Linked DNA regions of Homo sapiens: regions 1 and 2 are each linked to region 3. Evidence: promoter capture Hi-C in 16 types of primary human blood cells and fetal thymus (Javierre and others, 2016). All regions are on one chromosome and are shown on one strand. Each heading gives the region's core, a stretch centred on a gene start or on the middle of the fragment in contact. The rest is flanking DNA. Distances are from core to core; before and after follow the strand shown. Region 1 has its middle 29 kb from the start of MMP7. Region 2 overlaps MMP7 (matrix metallopeptidase 7). Region 3 holds the start of MMP20 (matrix metallopeptidase 20).

Region 1 (3,706 bases), core at 644-3,143, 120 kb before region 3:
GCTATAATTTCTTCACTAAATTATTAACTCTGCAATGATAAATAGCTGGTTCCTTTTTAATACAAACATTTTTAAAAGACACTTTTATTCCATGGTAACTTGTGTTATTGTTTCTTCCTAACAGTCACACTTCATTTTTCAGATGAGATATCCTGTTTCTAACTTTCTCTTCCTTATTAAGGAAACTTTTTGCCTAAAGAAACTTTGTGATAATTATTTTTTATGTGCTTTTGAAAAATATTTTATGGTGTTATTATTACAAAATAAATTCCTGTCCATTATAAAAACACATATAAGGAAAACCTGGATATGACCATGCATACTATTTTGTTCTTTATCATTCCACACCTAAACATATGTTTATACTATATTTATACATTTAAAAAATATGTTTAAAATATACTAAAAAATAGAACTGATAATTCAATACATAGTATTTTACAAATTGAATTTTAACTTATATTATGATCTTTTTTCATTGTAAATTTTTCTCTTTTTTTGAGGAAAAATATATATAACATAAAATTTAATGTCTTAATCATTTTTAAGTGTACAGTTCAGTGGTATTAAGTACATTCGTATGCTTGTACAACCATCACCACCATCAATCTCCAGAACACTTTCCTTCTTGCAGAACTGAAGCTGTATGCCCATTAAACAATAATTCTCTATTGCCCCTTCCCCCAAAGGCCCTGGAAACTATCATTCTACTTTCCATCTCTATGAATGTTATACTCTAAGTACCTCATGTAAGTGGAGTCATGCAGTGCTTGTCTTTTTGTAACTGGCTTATTTCACTGAGCCTAAGGTCCTCAAGTTTTATCCAGAATTTTCTTCCTTTTTATGGCTAACATTCCATTGTGTATATATACCACATTTTGTTTATCTGTTCATCTGTCAGTGGACACTTGTGTGCCTCCACATTTTAGCTCCCGGGAATAATGCTGCTATGAACATGAGTGTACAACTGTGTCTTTGAGACCCTGCTTTCAATTCTTTTGCGTACTTTCCCAGAAGTGGAATCGCTGCATCATATGATAATTCTGCTTTTATTTCTTGGAGAACCACTGTACTGTTTTCCACAACTGCTATACAATTTTCCCTCGAAGTGTGCACAGAGGTTCCAATTTCTTCATATATTCACCCACACTTATTCTCAGCTTTTAAAAATAGAAGCCATCTTAGGGGATGTGAGTGAGGCAGTATCTTGTTGTGGTTTTGATTTGCATTTCTCTAATGATTAGTGATGTTGAGCATGTTTTAATGTGCTTATCGATCATTTGTATATATTCTTTGTAGAAACTTCTATTTAAGTTCTTTGCCCATTTTTAAATCAAAATTTTTTTGTTGTCAAATTTTAGGAGGTCTCTATATATGCTCTATATTAATTCCTTATCATATATATGATTTGCAAATATTTTCTCCCATTCTTTGGGTTGCCTTTTTATTCTGTTGAGAGTGTTTTTTGATGCACAAAATTCTTACATTTTCATGAAGTCCAGTATGTGCATTTTGTTGTTGTTGTCTGGGCTTTTGGTGTCCTATCCAATAAATCATTGTCAAATCCAATATCATGAAGCACTTGCCCTGTGCTTTCTTCTCAGAATTTTTTTTTTGTTTGGTTTTCTGTTCCTGTGTTAGTTTGCTAAGAATGATAGTTTCTAGCTTCATCCATGTCCCTGCAAAGACATGAACTCATTCTTTTTTATGGCTACGTAGTATTCCGTGGTGTATATGTGCCACGTTTTCTTTATCCAGCCTATCATTGATGGACATTTGGGTTGGCTCCAAGTCTTTGCTATTGTAAATAGGGCTGCAATAAACATACGTGTGCATGTGTCTTTATAGTAGAGTGATTTTTTTTGTTTGTTTGTTTTGAGAGGGAGTTTTCCTCTGTTGCCCAGGCTGGAGTGCAGTGGTGTGATCTCGGCTTGCTGCAACTTCCACCTCCCGGGTTAAAGTGATTCTCCTGCCTCAGCCTCCCAAGTAGTTGGGATTACAGGTGCCTGCCACCATGCCCAGCTAATTTTTGTATTTTTAGTAGAGACGGGGTTTCACCATGTTGGTCAGGCTGGTTTTGTACTGCTGACCTGAGGTGATCTGCCTGCCTTGGCCTCCCAAAGTGCTGGGATTATAGGTGTGAGCCACCACACATGACAGTAGAATGATTTATAATCCTTTGGGTATATAACCAGCAATGGGATTGCTGGGTCAAATGGTGTTTCTGGTTCTAGATCCTTGAGGAATCACCACACTGTCTTCCACAATGGTTGAACTAATTTACACTCCCACCAACAGCGTAAAGCATTCCTATTTCTCCACATGCTCTTCAGCATCTGTTGTTTCCTGACTTTTTAATGATTGCCATTCTAACTGGCATGAGATGGTATCTCATTGTGGTTTTGATCTGCATTTCTCTAGTGACCAGTGATAACGAGATTTTTTTTCCTATGTTTTTTGGTCACATAAATGTCTTCTTTTGAGTAGTGTCTGTTCACATCCTTTGCGCACTTTTTGATGGGGTTGTTTTTTTCCTGTAACTTTGTTTAAGTTCCTTGTAGATTCTGGATACTAGACCTTTGTCAGATGGATAGATTGCAAAAATTTTCTCCCATCTGTAGGTTGCCTGTTTACTCTGATGATAGTTTATTTTGCCGTGCAGAAACTCTTTAGTGTAATTAGATCCCATTTGTCAATTTTGGCTTTTGTTGCATGCAATTGCTTTTGGTGTTTTAGTCACGAAGTCTTTGTACATGCCTATGTCCTGAATGGTATTGCCTAGGTTTTCTTCTAGGGTTTTTGTGGTTTTAGGTCTTACATTGAAGTCTTTAAACCATCTTGAATTAATTTTTGTATAAGGTGTAAGGAAGGGGTCTGGTTTCAGTTTTCTGCATATAGCCAGCCAGTTTTCCCAACACGATTATTAAATAGGGAATCTTTTCCCCGTTGCTTGTTTTTATCAGGTTTGTCAAAGATCAGATGGTTATAGATGTGTGGGGTTATTTCTGAGGCTTCTGTTCTGTTTTGTTGGTCTATATATCTGTTTTGGTACCATTACTATGCTGTTTTGGTTACTACAGCCTTGTAGTATAGTTTGAAGTCAGGTAGTGTGATATCTCCAGCTTTGTTCTTATTCTTAGGATTGTCTTAGCTGTGTGGGCTTTTTTTTGGTTCCATATGAAATTTAAAGTAGTTTTTTTCTAATTCTGTGGAGAAAGTCAATGGTAGCTTGATGGGAATAACATTGAAACTATAAATTACTTTGGGTGGTATGGCCATTTTCATGACATTGATTCTTCCTACTCATGAGCATGGAATGTTTTTCCATTTGTTTGTGTCCTTTCTTATTTCCTTGAGCAGTGGTTTATAGTTCTCCTTGAAGCAGTCCTTCACATCCCTTTTAAATTGTGTTCCTAGGTATTTTATTCCCTTTGTGGCAATTGGAATGGGAGTTCACTCATGATTTGGCTCTCTGTCGTCTGTTATTGGTGTATAGTAATGCCTGCGATTTTTGCACATTGATTTTGTATCCTGACACTTTGCTGAAGTTGCTTATCAGCCTAAGGAGTTTTTGGGCTGAGACAATGGGGTTTTCTAAATACACAATCATGTCATCTGCAGACAAAGACAATTTGACTTTCTGCCTTCCTATTTGAATACCTTTATTTCTTTCTCTTGCTTGATTGCCCTGGCCAGAACTTTCAAT
Region 2 (3,397 bases), core at 290-2,789, 100 kb before region 3:
ACATAACTTCCTTTTCATTCTAGCATCATATTTATATATTTCCTTATGTTTTAAAAGGGTCTTTGAACGCTTGTTCACATATACTTAATTTTTTGCCTGGATTGTGGATTCTCCTCTCATTTGATCTATTCTTGGAATGGCTTCCTAAGGCTGCAGGATAGTTCCGAATTTCGGGATATTGATCTGCTTTTAGGGTATGTGTGGGAAGGATAATTTTTATCAGTAAGAAAGTAAATTTCAATTGTTCATCTCCCTATAGAGAAAGCCATTCATGGGTGTTGGGAGTGTGGAGAAGGAGGAAGAAAGAGAAGGCTGAAACAGCAAAGCCCTTGCCAGCTCCGTGTTCTGCTAAAAGGTTAAACCTTGCATAGAGAGTGCTTCACCCAGAGAAACACAGTGGGTTTCTACGTGTGGAAAGGGAGGACCTGAGCTGAAGGACATCAGGAAAATGAGTTTCTGGGGAAGTGAGAAGGAGTGGGGTTTAAAGACAAGAGGAGTTGGGAGACAGGTGGCAAGAGGCTGCAGCCTGCAGAAGCAGGTGGCCAATGAGAAATTCCTGATCGGGGATAAGTAAAGGATTTGGGCTGGGTGCGGTGGCTCACACCTGCAATCCTAGCACTTTGGGAGGCTGAGGCTGGTGGATCACTTGAGGTCAGGAGTTCAAGACCAGCCTGGCCAATAGGGTGAAACCCCATCTCTACTAAAAATACAAAAATTAGCCAGGGATGGTGGCATGTGCCTATAATCCCAGCTACTTGGGAGGCTGAGGCAGGAGAATCGCTTGAACCCACGAGGCGGTGGTTGCAGTGAGCCGAGATCGCGTGCCACTGTACACCAGCCTGGGTAACAATGACACTGCCTCCAAAAAAAAAAAAAAGGATTTGAAGGATGGGGATAATATCCATAATATCCAATTTTAGTTTTGTTCAATTTCATGACCCTTGCACAGTAGAAAATTCCACTATTTATGCAAATCTCCAGCAACATCTACATTCTCATTAAAGCCTGTAGCACTGGTCTGTAGAAAGTTAAAGAGAACAGGGTGAGACCAACATCTGCGTTGGCATGGGGAAAAGGGAAGGGAACCTAGAGAGTGGCTGCAGCAGGAGAGGTTGCAGGAAAATCAGGAGGTGAGGGGCAGGTAGGAACTTGGAGCTGGAAGTGACCGTGAGGTGGTAAGTCTTAAGTTGTTGGAAATTCTCAGACATTTGTGGGAAGAATTGGACTTTCCAGAGGACTCAGTGTGAGAGCACGGGCCACAAAGGTAAGGGGAAATTAGTGTAACTTTGGGCCACACTAATGAACAATAAAGAGGTGGAGCTCCCACCTTCCCTCTTGGGTGGAAGGGTGAGGTGCTGCGGAAGACCTCAAAATAGTGTGGTGGGATTCTTTTTTTGTCTTAGTCTTTCGTTTCATTGTATAGTATGTCTTCACAGAAAGAGTGCTCCAAACTATAAATAAATTTACCATGGAATAAACATTTTATTTATTTGTGTATGTAACATTTATTGACATCTACCCACTGCAAGTATAGATGAATAAGACACAGTCACACCATAAAGGAGTTTATCCTTAAAAGGAGTGAAAGACATTCAAAAACCAACTGCAATAAAAAAGGGTGACATAATTGCTAAATGGAGTGGAGGAACAGTGCTTATCAATTCTGATTGTGCAACAATGATATACAATCCAATGAATGAATGAATGGATGTTCTGCCTGAAGTTTCTATTTCTTTCTTGAATTACTTCTCTTTCCTATTGAGAGAAAAAAAAAGAACATTCTGATATGTAGAAAATGCATAAAAACCATCCTAAGATTATACAGGCAAAGGAAATGTCACAGAAAGTATAATCTATTATTCACTCAGACCATTTCTTGTCCCTGGGACAAAGATTCTGAAGAACAACCTCCAGAGGCTAAGAAGGCAGGATTGACTGGAGTGTGGGCCCAGGGCTCAGGTACCTTTGCATCTTGTTTCTACCAGTTTACTAGATGTGTGACCTTAGGTAGTTTACTACTTAACCTCTCTTAGCATCAGATTACAAATCTGTAAAATGTGGATAATAATGTCTCATTGAATTCTTGAATTAAATGAGTTAATCCATGTGAAGTCTTGGGATACTGCAAGTACTCAATGCATGTTAGCTATTATTTATTTATTTTTTGAGATGGAGTCTCACTCTGTTGCCCAGGCTGGATTGCAGCGGTGTGATCTTGACTCACTGCAACCTCTGCCTCCTGGGTTCCGGCAATTCTCATGCTTCAGCCTCCTGAGTTGCTGGGACTACAGACATGCACCTTCACGCCCGGCTAATTTTTGTATTTTTAGTAGACATGGGGTTTTACCATGTTGTCCAGGTCTCGAGCTCCTGGCCTCAAGCGATCCCCAACCACCTTGGCCTCCCGAAGTGCTGGGTAAAGGCGTGAGCCACCGCGCCCAGCCAGCTATTATTTTTATCATTCTGAGTATAGCATTAGGAATCTTGTATCTTAATCACTTTCTTTGGAATCTATGTTTTCTGCTCATATTACTTTTTAGATTAACTCCCTACATATACAGCCCACATAATTAAATTCTATTTCCATTTGTCCAGAAGTTACTTGTTTCCAACTCTGACCAGAGATGCCCTTTTGTCTAATACTTAAGGTTTTAATGCACTAGTCTCTTTTCTTCCTGTTAAATTTAATCAGCATGCCTCAGACCTTCTTTAGTCTCTTTGTATTTTTCTTAGGGTTCTAAAATATTTATAGACTGCTATAGAATATTCCATGAGTTCCACAGTTTTATGTAAGGGGAGGATAGTATTTTCAGTTTTGTTCATGATAACTTTACGAACAATAGTCAGCATTTTGTGAATCTTTTGGACAGCAGTGGTTCTTTACGTCGTAACTTTTGGGAATAGTTACACAGCATTTTCCAAAGTGTGTTCTCTGAAGTGCTAGTTTATGGGACTCATTGAGACCCATAAAAAGGATTATAATTTAGGAAACACTGAGTTAAACATTTGTTCAATACTCCATACTCTCTAATAGTCTATACACCTGAAATACAGTAGGTAGTGTTTCTTGAACTTATTTCTCCATAGCCTCCTTTTCTGGGAATCACCCTGTAGGACTAGTGTTCTGAGAATACAGTTTGGGACATGCTGATTTATAGCAAATGCTAGGTTGAACTGATATCTTAAATCCAGTGTCTTACTGGAATATTTCTCCCCTGAGGACAGTCCTCTATTATGTGGAAGCACTTTCATTGCTCACGTGATCATTTGAAGAATCTTAAGTGATCTTTTTGCAGTGTATTCTCTTCATCCTGATATTTTTACTGGCTAGGTTTAGTTATATCTGCTGATTTAAAGATGTCATTCTGTATTCTTTTATTCTTACTAGGATAAAAAG
Region 3 (3,304 bases), core at 288-2,787:
AGCATGGCTCTCCTTCTGGAGGTCACAAAACCTCTTTAGTTTCAGAATCACAGTGGCATGAGGCAGGGTAGGGAAAATTACATTTGGGAAGAAGGCACCTAAAGCTAGGTGGCATGGACAAAATACAATTGAATAAGGATCCCAGTATCCTGAGTTATTTTGAATTTAGTTCATCTAAAAGTGGGCTAAAGTCAAAAGAAGTTCAGTTCAACATGGTTGTGCTGGGCATCAGCTGTGCTGTTCATCTGCGGGGCTGATATTTAAGTGTTTAATGACTGGTATGGCCGGGGAACTGACCAGTTAATAAGGATGAGTGGCAGAAACAATCGGTAGGGACATGCCATTGCACATGGGTGCAAATCAGCTCTACGATGCAGACAGCCAAGCGGTACACAGGTGCAGCCTGGCAGTCAGGAAAGCAGCCCTGAGGCGGAGCTGGTGATCACAGATGTGCTGTAATGTTGGCAGACTCTTGAAAGGGAGGCCTGTGTGCAAAAGCATTTCCTCTATATATCTTTCACTAATGTTGGAAATTCCATCCGTAGACATCCATTTCTTTAGGTTAAGGATGCCACCCTTCTTTTAAAAACAAAACACGCTTGGAAGCATATATATATATATATATATATATATATATATATATATATATATATGTAGAAATCATTTTGAGTCAAGCAGTCTTTGTGAAATATTTGAATATGGATCATTTCTATCAGACCCTTTCCAGCAGTCATAGAGGAGAGATCTCAAAAGAGGAAAATACACAAAGTTTAAGTACATAAACGTTGTACTTTGTACTTACTACATAAACTTTGTTATGTACTTTGTACATAAACTTTTACTTCATTGGGGAATATGCTTTAGGGAGAAAAGGCCTTCAAATGAGAAGTGGGTTGGCACCCAGGAAGAACTTAGTCCACTTTAAATTTTGATCAGGGTTACCTTGAATATAAGAGCCATTTAAAAAGTGGAAACACAGGAAATCTCCTTGTTGTGACCGCTAAAGCTTAGCACTAAATTCACAACCTGCCTCTAGCGTGTGGATTATGCCTCGGTTTTTATTTTTCTGCTTCTATTTTTCCTCCTACATCATTCCCGGGAAGTACTTGTTTGCTCCTTTTATATTGCATGGTTTTCACAAGCCACCTGGAATTCTTTATGAAGCAAGATAGCTAGGTAGATATATCCTCATGTATTTATTCAGTCATGTAACATGGTACACCTAATATGCACCAGACACCAATCTAGGTGGACAGAAGATAGCATCAGTTAGACTTCAATGGACTTATATAAAATGATTTTAAAAGAACAATAGAATTTTTTTCTTATTTTCTCACTATGCCCTTTTAGGTTTTCTAGGGCAGAGGAGCAAGAAGGAATTGGGCAAAAATTCACAAACCTGTGCGAGGCGGTAGTTGTTCCTCCAGGTCCTGGGGGAGGCTGCAACTAGGGAGGGGGCTGCAGTGGAAAACTTCAAAGCCATGATGAGGAAGACAGCAAGGCCAGATGCAGGGAGCACCTTCATCCCCTCACAGTAGCTTGGTAATTATATCAGCCTGGGGGATGGCAGACAGTGCACGTTTGCACTTCGACCTTGAGCTCCTTTTATAGAGTCAAACAGGTCTGGACCCTCCGAGCAAGGATGATTCATGTCTCAAACAGTAATTATACAGCTCATTTCTCTCCCTGATGATGGGGTAACACAACTGTACACAGGAATCAGGGAAAGCTTCATATTTTTTTTGTTATTTACCAAGTGGCAAAAGGAGAAAAACAGTCACTTTTAATGAAGTTGGTCAGCTAGTTACAAAAATTGAAGTAAACTTGATTGATTTGAACCCAACTCAACTGAAACATTTGATTAGTCTTCATTTGGGGGCCTTTTTCCATTCTGATTACAGAAAAGTTAGATGATTACAGTATAATTGAATTTGTCCTCCAAGTAATCCCAAACTCCCCATGCATTCAACCCAATCGCCTGTATCTCCTGCATTCACTTCAAAATTTCTTAGTAGCAACTGCTGTTCATAATGATGGCTCTGAGACACATAAGATCCTGAATCATCAAGGCAAGATTACATTATACTGTGCTGACTTAGGGTGGAAAGTGAACTGGTAACTGTTAGAAAGCTTTTGGATGAATTAAGGCAAGAGTTACGTCTTCGTTAACCAAAACAATAGCCAGAACTCCCCAATCTCTGTGTACTCTGGTTAATTGGAGTCATATTGTTTTTCCTGGGTCTGATTAAGATGGATTTGGATCCAGAGATGATACGGTGAAATGGTGTCATATGGTGGGAAAAGCACTTAGAGTCAGACAAAGCAAGACTAAATATTTAAAAAGATATTTCCTAGCTGTGTGATGTTGGGTATGTCATTTAATCTCTGAATATCAAGTTTTTTTTAATCTACAAAAGACTGACAATACTACTACTATGTATAAACTTTTCAGTGTTATGGAGTAACACATATAGCATGACATCTGCAAGCACCACTTGGCATCCACTAGATGTGGATTCAAATCCTAATTTTGATTTTAGACTAAATTCAAGGTTATTCCTATAGTGAATACAGTGAATTCCTATAGTCTTTCTCACTCTGTTGCATTTTGATATGCTTTCTTTGCATGGAAGAGAAGATGGTGGAGTTACAGCCAATGTTTGGTATCTAGTGTACAACCCCAGGCACTGAACAAGAGTTTGTCACACATTAATATGGTTTGGCTCTGTGTCCCTAACCAAATCTCATCTCGAATTGTAATCCCCATGTGTTGAGGGAGGGAGGGGATTGGATCATGGGGGTGGTTCCGTCATGCTGTTCTCATGACAATGAGTGAGTTCTCACAAGATATGATGGTTTTATAGGTGTTTGAAAGTTCCTCCATTGATCTTCTCTCTCCTGCTGCCTTGTCAAGAAGGTGCCTGCTTCCCCTTTGCCTTGCACCATGATTCTAAGTTTCCTGAGGCCTCCCCAGCCATGTAAAACTGTGAGTCAACTAAGCCTCTTTCCTTTATAAATTACCCAGTCTCGGGTATTCCTTTATAGCAGTGTGAGAATGGACTAATACACACAGGCAAACAGAATTTCTGGCATGTACTGTGAGATAGACAAAACATGTGTCTCAGAAGAAGAAAAAAGAAAACCACAGATTAGATTCATTCAACTAAATTGTAAGCTGTTTGAAGACTGTATTCTAAAAAATGTTACTTAATCAAGTTTGTTAAAAAAAAAGAATGAATGAATGTACAAACATATACTAATCATTGCTTTTTGGTTTCAGGAAAGGAATAGGATATTGCAATAA

What was found. The method cuts DNA at HindIII sites, captures the fragments that hold promoters and counts their contacts. A CHiCAGO score of 5 or more calls a contact.
Region 1: a contact is called between a fragment that was not itself captured here and the fragment with the promoter of MMP20 in region 3, in 3 of 17 cell types (M2 macrophages, M1 macrophages and M0 macrophages). The highest score is 8.4, in M2 macrophages.
Region 2: a contact is called between a fragment that was not itself captured here and the fragment with the promoter of MMP20 in region 3, in 2 of 17 cell types (M1 macrophages and M0 macrophages). The highest score is 7.1, in M1 macrophages.

What each region holds. Positions count from the first base shown.
Region 1 is chr11:102,500,291-102,503,996 of GRCh38, forward strand. No RefSeq gene overlaps it. Among named protein-coding and RNA genes, the nearest start is that of MMP7, 29 kb to the right of the region's middle. The HindIII fragment of the contact is 4,304 bases long and covers 1-3,706 here.
Region 2 is chr11:102,519,050-102,522,446 of GRCh38, forward strand. It overlaps MMP7 (matrix metallopeptidase 7), which reads right to left. Exons shown (of 6, transcript NM_002423.5): 6 at 1,459-1,755. The coding sequence ends at 1,727. Among named protein-coding and RNA genes, the nearest start is that of MMP7, 10 kb to the right of the region's middle. The HindIII fragment of the contact is 3,711 bases long and covers 1-3,395 here.
Region 3 is chr11:102,623,795-102,627,098 of GRCh38, forward strand. MMP20 (matrix metallopeptidase 20) reads right to left here and starts at 1,538. Exons shown (of 10, transcript NM_004771.4): 1 at 1,400-1,538. The coding sequence starts at 1,525. The HindIII fragment of the contact is 723 bases long and covers 1,005-1,727 here.